Linked DNA regions of Homo sapiens: region 2 is linked to region 1. Evidence: promoter capture Hi-C in human tissues and cell types (Jung and others, 2019). All regions are on one chromosome and are shown on one strand. Each heading gives the region's core, a stretch centred on a gene start or on the middle of the fragment in contact. The rest is flanking DNA. Distances are from core to core; before and after follow the strand shown. Region 1 holds the start of ZNF732 (zinc finger protein 732). Region 2 has its middle 8.6 kb from the start of ZNF595.

What was found. The method cuts DNA at HindIII sites, captures the fragments that hold promoters and counts their contacts. A contact is called where the count stands out against the background at its distance.
Region 2: a contact is called between a fragment that was not itself captured here and the fragment with the promoter of ZNF732 in region 1, in 2 of the 25 tissues and cell types used here (dorsolateral prefrontal cortex and mesendoderm cells).

What each region holds. Positions count from the first base shown.
Region 1 is chr4:303,927-307,271 of GRCh38, forward strand. It overlaps ZNF732 (zinc finger protein 732), which reads right to left and starts at 1,548. Exons shown (of 4, transcript NM_001137608.3): 1 at 1,382-1,548. The coding sequence starts at 1,384. The HindIII fragment of the contact is 17,523 bases long and covers 1-3,345 here.
Region 2 is chr4:43,018-46,362 of GRCh38, forward strand. No RefSeq gene overlaps it. Among named protein-coding and RNA genes, the nearest start is that of ZNF595, 8.6 kb to the right of the region's middle. The HindIII fragment of the contact is 4,756 bases long and covers 1-3,345 here.

The DNA of each region.
Region 1 (3,345 bases), core at 298-2,797:
GTTTGTGCTACAAGTGCAGGTCTAGGCAGGGTTACCATCTGACTGATTCATGTGTCCATAAAGGCAGAGGAGATTAGGATCAGGTGGTCCAGAAGCCTGGGTGGGGGAAGGAAACAGGTTCCTGCTATAGATCCAGTGTCTGGGGTTGAAATGAGCCAGGAGTCTTCCTGGCACTGTGTGTGTTATTGGCAGAATACCCTAGGAGCAAAGCTGTCACGGGCACAATTCCTGAGGGTAGAACCCTGTCCTGGGAGGAGTGTGGCAATGCGAATGGCCAGTGAGCGTCCTCGGGAGTGGGTTAGCATTAAGTGGGGGCTGGCAGCAGGGTGCAGGGAAGGGATGTTTCTCAGAACTCCTTTCCTCTAAGTTCCCAGTCCCTTCTCTCCCCGGAAGGAGACCTGGAGGAAAAGGACAGTGCCCAGCGGGACAGCACATGTGCAGAACCCGGCCGCGCCTCCCGCAGACACCAGGCATCTTTCTCCAGCCCAGGCTCAGCCATGTCTTTCTTCTGACAGAAAACGTGCGGAGTTTGCTCAACATCAGTCAATGCTCCAACCCCAACGCGGTGTCCAGCAACTCACTAACGACACCACCCAGAGTCAGCGAAGACCCCACAAGCTCAGCGCTCTTCCCGCAGCTGCCCCCCCCCTGCAGACGGCAGTCCCTGCCTCTGGACACCCGTCTTCATTTCTGAACGCCTGCCTACAAACCAGGGGCGCCCACACCCTCCTCAAGTTCAATAATGTGGCAGAACTACTCACAGAACTCAGCGAAGCGCTGTGCGCGCCCACACCAGCGTATTCTAAAAGATGCCACTCAGGAACAGCCACGCGGAGGAGGCGCACAGGGCAAGGGGACTGGTGGGCAAGTTGGAGCGGGCGGGTGATTTGCTTCGCTTCCTCACACACCTCACAAAAGCTTTTCCTTCAAGACCCGCTGGCAGCCCCCAAACCACAAGCCATGCCCGGGGCTGTCCCATTAATTAGTCCCCATTTGCTCACATGAACTCTATGTTTTGATAGGGCCTCGATCTTATTCCGAACAGGGTAAAGTAGGGACTCGACGACCGGACCACAGCTCCTCCCAGGCGGGCACCTCGCACGCCACGCAGGCGTTTTCCCGATGAGCTCCTCCTCACCCCACAGCCCAGGGAAGGTGCGGGGCTGCGGGCGCAGAGCTGCACAAGTAGGGCTGCAGGCTGGGCCAAAGCCGCCTTGCGGGGACCGACATGAACCCGGGTCCCTCACCGGAAGGGACCAAGGACTGAGGGCTGAGCGGCGGCAGCGGAGACTCCGTTCGCAGACTCCGTCCCGCCGCCGCCATTTCCCGCCGGTTCGGATGAGGCCTCCCCAGCCTTGGGACGCCCTGCCCCCACACTCACCATTTCCCCACTTCAGGGGTGTAGCGGAGTCTCAGCTACGAATCATCCAATACCCGCAGGTCACAGAGCGACGGAGGCTGAGGCTGTGACCGAATCACCGACGCCTCCCTGAGGGGTGAAAGCACGGCCGTGGAGACCCTAACCGAGCTCACGCTGGCGCAAAAGGCAAAAGCCGCGCCAGATCCCGGATGCCGCCCCCTCCTCTCCGGCTGCGCGCCTGATTGGGCAGTTCTCAATCCAGCGCTCTGATTGGATAAGATACCAAGCTCCCCACGCTCAGAATTTGAGTGACAGAACTTGCCACCACACAGTGCACTTAATGAGGCAAGAGAGACAGACTCGTGCCTCCAGGTATTTTCAGTCAGGGCTTTCTGTGCTAGGCTTGGCTCTGTTGGGGGTTCATTTTTAACCTTCTGGTGTGTAAGGTTACGCCCATTTATAAATTGTGTACGTACGCGCGCGCACACACACAGACACACACTTGTTCACAAATGGAAACAATATAATGACAATTATTTTAATATTTTAGATTTCATAACCTCTCTGTCCTCTGGTCTTTTGAGTAGGATTTTAAGGGGGAAGCAATCCTTTAAAAAATAAAATGTTAGCTATTTGTGAATTTTCAATTTTTTATTAGCCACATCAAAAATAATAAAAAGAAACAAGTGAAATTGTTTATATTTTAACCTATTGTATCCAAAATATTGTTTCAATATGTGATCAATATATAATTAGAAATAAAGTATATTTCTGATTTAATTCGTCTAAACTCACTGTGTATTTTATGTTTGCAGCACATTTTACCTCAAACCAGCCACATTCCAGGTACTCAGTAGCTACATATGTCTGGTGGCTGCCACATCGAGTACAGCCATGAGGGCTCTGACCTCAAGAAAGTGAGGGCCTGAACACGTCTTTTCTACTGGAAGTAAGGGACCAGCCTCTCTACCAACTTTTCTCCTCAGGATGAAGGATGGGTAGGACAGTGCCCCTAGAGAGAGCAGGGGCTGCAAGCTGAGAGTGTCCACGTGAAGATCACTGTCTCCCCCTTGCTGTTTGGTACCAGTGTGGTGGTCTCCTCAGTTCAACCACGTCTGGGCTCTCTTCCCATGACCAGGAAGAATAAGACATACAGACACCAGAGAGTGAGTAAAGCAGAATAGGATTTATTAAGCATAGGGAAAGCTCTCAGCAGTAAGAGGGGACATGAAAGCAGGGTGCCAGAAATGGGGCTGAGTTTATATGGCAAGAACAAGGAAGTCTTCTGTGGGCTCTGCCCAAATGGGAGGGGTAAAGTTCCCCTATAACAGTGTTGCATCTGAGCATGCCTGGGATTGACCACAGTGACTCCGTCTTGGTTATTACCCATGAGTGCCCAAGCGAAACCCACAGCAGGTGGAAAGGGTGAAGCTAAAACCAAAATACTTATGTCATGTTAGGTAACATTATAAGGAGCTGGGTCAAGTTAATGACATTTAGGTTGATTTATTACACCTGGGCCTAAGTGGGGACAGTCCCTTCTGATCAACATCCTGGCATAAGAGGAAGTTCTTAACCACATTTCTTCCCACTAGCTACAAGGGTGGTGCATGTGCGGTCCCATGGGTGTTTTTCCTCTCCAGAGACCCTCCCTCCCTATCTTCCTAACTAGCTTCTGACTGCCTCCTCTCTCAGGGGTTCCTCTTCCTTTTAAATATCAGACAGTAAACAAGGAATGATGGGTCCACAGGAAGAGAGAGCACCATGTATTCAGATCTCTTCACAGCCTTGCCCTCCAGAGTTTAGATGTGGAGGGAATAGATTAAAGGCAAATTTCTTGTTTTGCTATTTATCTTTGGACCTGTCAGGCTGTAACTGTGTGTTTTTCTCCTGTGGTGTGGGGCACTGTGTGAGTTTAAGCACCAATCACATGCATCCACTTCTACCTGCACTTCTGTTCCCAGAAGGAAGGCCGTGAGTGTGAG
Region 2 (3,345 bases), core at 515-3,014, 260 kb before region 1:
GCTATAAAAAGATTCCACAAAGTGAGAGCATTAAGCTCAAAGGTCCTGAGGTAGGTGTGTTTGAGGAGCTGGTGTGTAGCTGCTGTATAAGAAGTCAACCTCCTTATTTTCAGGTACATTTATTATTATTTTAACCCCAAGCAGAATTGCCTAGCTGGGTCCCTCACCTTTACACAATAGTCATAGGATTTGACTGTTATCAAAAAGTAAATCCACTCTCAGAGGCCATAGATTTCCTATTACTGAGGTTCTTCAAAAGAATATGTAATCAATTTATATAGTAATTCCTAAAAATGAGATTCTAAAATATAGTAGCATGCAGATGAAGCATAGCTAATGCTTTAAATTATTCTGTAATAATGCATTCCTGAGGATATCCAAATTTTCACAGAACAGTTTTAATGAAATGGAAGCACATACTGGAATCATTTTAGTTAGGGATGATTTGTATCAGACTAAAACACTCTGACCTTTTGGTTTCACATACTAATTGAAAACTCTTTAGGATGAATGTTGAAATAGGGAAGAGAGACTTACAGGCTCAGAAAGCTAGGGAAGTGAAAATAATTGTAAAACAGCTCTAACATTTTTAAATGTAGCAGCTGCTGTTGTGAACTTCATTCTGCCTTTTCTTTCTAATTCTCTGGGTCCAGATCTGTTTACACCACCTCCTGGTACAACACCCCTAAGAGCTGACTTTGGCAGTTGTGTATCTCTGTTACTGGGGCTTGAATTAAACATCTTAGTGAACAAACTTTAGCTTTACTCTTCAATACTGAAAAAAAAAATGTTATGCCCATGGTTAAACCAGTATCCTACTCAATCCTTCTGTGATGTTACTCACAAAATGAATTGCATAAAATCGGATACCTGAGATTGTTTTGGCTGGGAGGATCCTTGAATTATAAAGATTAAATTAGATTAATCAGGAATGACCTCTGTTACTCCTCATGGGGACATTCAACTTCTGACTGAACTTTTTTTTTCCTTTAAAATTGGGGTAATAGCCCATATCCTCCACATCTCAGAAGGTTCATTTTTATTGGTCCAAAGGAAGTATATGAAAACACTTCCAAAAAAAGTGTAGGTGTTATCAGTATATCATACCATGTGAGAGAAGGTGTAAAGCAACAAAAGGAGTTTTGTTTTGTTTTGTTTTGTTTTGTTTTGTTTTGTTTTGTTTTTGAGATGGAGTTTCACTCTTGTTGCCCAGGCTGGAGTGCAATGGCGCCATCTCAGCTCACTGCAACCTCTGCCTCCCAGGTTCAAGCGATTCTCCTGCTTCAGCCTCCCAAGCAGCTGGGATTACAGGCATGCACCACCATGACCAGCCAATTTTGTGTTGTTAGTAGAGATGGGGTTTCTCCATGTTGGTCAGGTTGGTCTCGAACGCCCGACCTCAGGTGATCCGCCTGCCTTGGCTTCCCAAAGTGCTGGGATTACAGGCGTGAGCCACTGCGCCTGGACAGGAGTTTGGTTTTTAAAAATTTAACACAAGAACATGTATATGCATTTGAATGTACACCAGCCTTTAAAGCAGTCACCATTGGAAGCCATATATACCAAATATCATGAGGGAGAAACTGGAACAAAAAGATGAGTTGGCTATAACTTACGGAAAAGTGAAGAAAATTTCAAAAACCTCTTTATGTGAATGCTCAACTATATTTAAAACACATCAATTCTATGAGGTAGGTATTAACCCTTTCTTACAGAAGAAGGAACTGAACCCCATCAAGGCTACACATAATAAGTGGCAGAGGTGAAATTTGAACCCAGATCTACCAACTCCAAGTTTCTTTTCAATTTGACTATAACTGCATTTGTGATTGCTTGTGACATAAGACATACGAGAGAGTAGATTTGAATTATGTATAAGCAGCTGAGAAAAATGCAATTGAGGGACTTTTCTGAATTGAGAAAAGGATGACATTCTTTGGAGAGCAGACTTTCTACCCTCGCCATCTATCATTGAATGTTATATTCATTGCTGCCACTAGTTAAATATTAGCTAGACATTGACTGGTAGTTACAATCAATGACACAGTCACTGGCCTAATTACTTTGGTGATTTTTATACCATGGTGTCTGACATTCCCAGGTGTTTTGTATAAGGCACACGTATTTCAAGAGCTCTTCAGCCAGGCCTAATCTCTATGCTGATGCCTCAGTCTTGCTTGCTGTTGGAAAGCTTGGCATATTCTCCAGACATAGTCAGAGGACTATATTTCAAAGCTATGTGTGGGTGCACTGAATTCTATGCCTCAGATGATTCCACTGTGGAAAATGATGTGGAAACCCAGTTGAAACGCTCTCACTTCAGTTAACTTTTATATCACAAATCTTAAGTCTGGAAAAGGAAAACAAACTCTTGTGTCCATACTTATTCTTTCTTAAGACGTGAAAACAATAGTACATTTTAACATGGCTGAAGAAAAATTAATTTATGTGACTGTTTATAGAATATAATATAGTTTTATAAGATAAAAATTAAGGACAATATTTTACTTTTTTTTTTTTTTGAGACAAAGTTTTGTTCTTGTTGCCCAGGCTGGAATGCAATGGCATGATCTCAGCTCACTGCAACCTCTGCCTCCCAGGTTTAAGCAATTCTCCTGCCTCAGCCTCCCAAGTAGCTGGGATTACCAGAGTACACCACCAGGCCCGGCTAATTTTGTACTTCTTTAGTAGAGACAGGGTTTCACCATGTTGGTCAGGCTGGTCTTGAATCCCTGAACTCAAGTGATCCACCCCTGCACACTCGGCCTCCCAAAATGCTGGAATATTTTACTTTTGTATACATCTAAAAAGTAATTATTAATTTTGAAGATTGAGTCTTCTAAGTTAAAATAGACAGTTGTAACTCATAGACAGAACGTTCACAACTCACAGATACCTAAATAGTGCAGTTTTTGCTTTTAGTTCTGAAATGAAGATTGTCATGAAGCAGCTTATCACTCTCTGTGCCTTCACCATTCTCCTGGGTTATGATTTGGTGAAAAGGCTGCGGGAAAAAATGTGGAACATGTTCAACAGATAGGGAGAAGTGAGAAAGCCGATGGTACCTACAGAAATGAAATCCTTGGCTGGGAGTGGTGGCTCACGCCTGTAATCCCAACACTTTGGGAGGCCGAGGCAGGTGGATCACCTGAGGTCAGGAGTTTGAGACTAGTGTGGCCAACATGGTGAAACCCCTTCTCTACTAAAAATACCAAAAATTAGCCGGGTGTAGTGGCGGACACCTGTAATCCCAGCTACTCAGGAGGCTGAGACAGGAGAATCACTTGAACCTGGGAGGGAGAGGTTGCAGTGAGCTGAGATTGCGCCATTACACTCTGGCCTGGG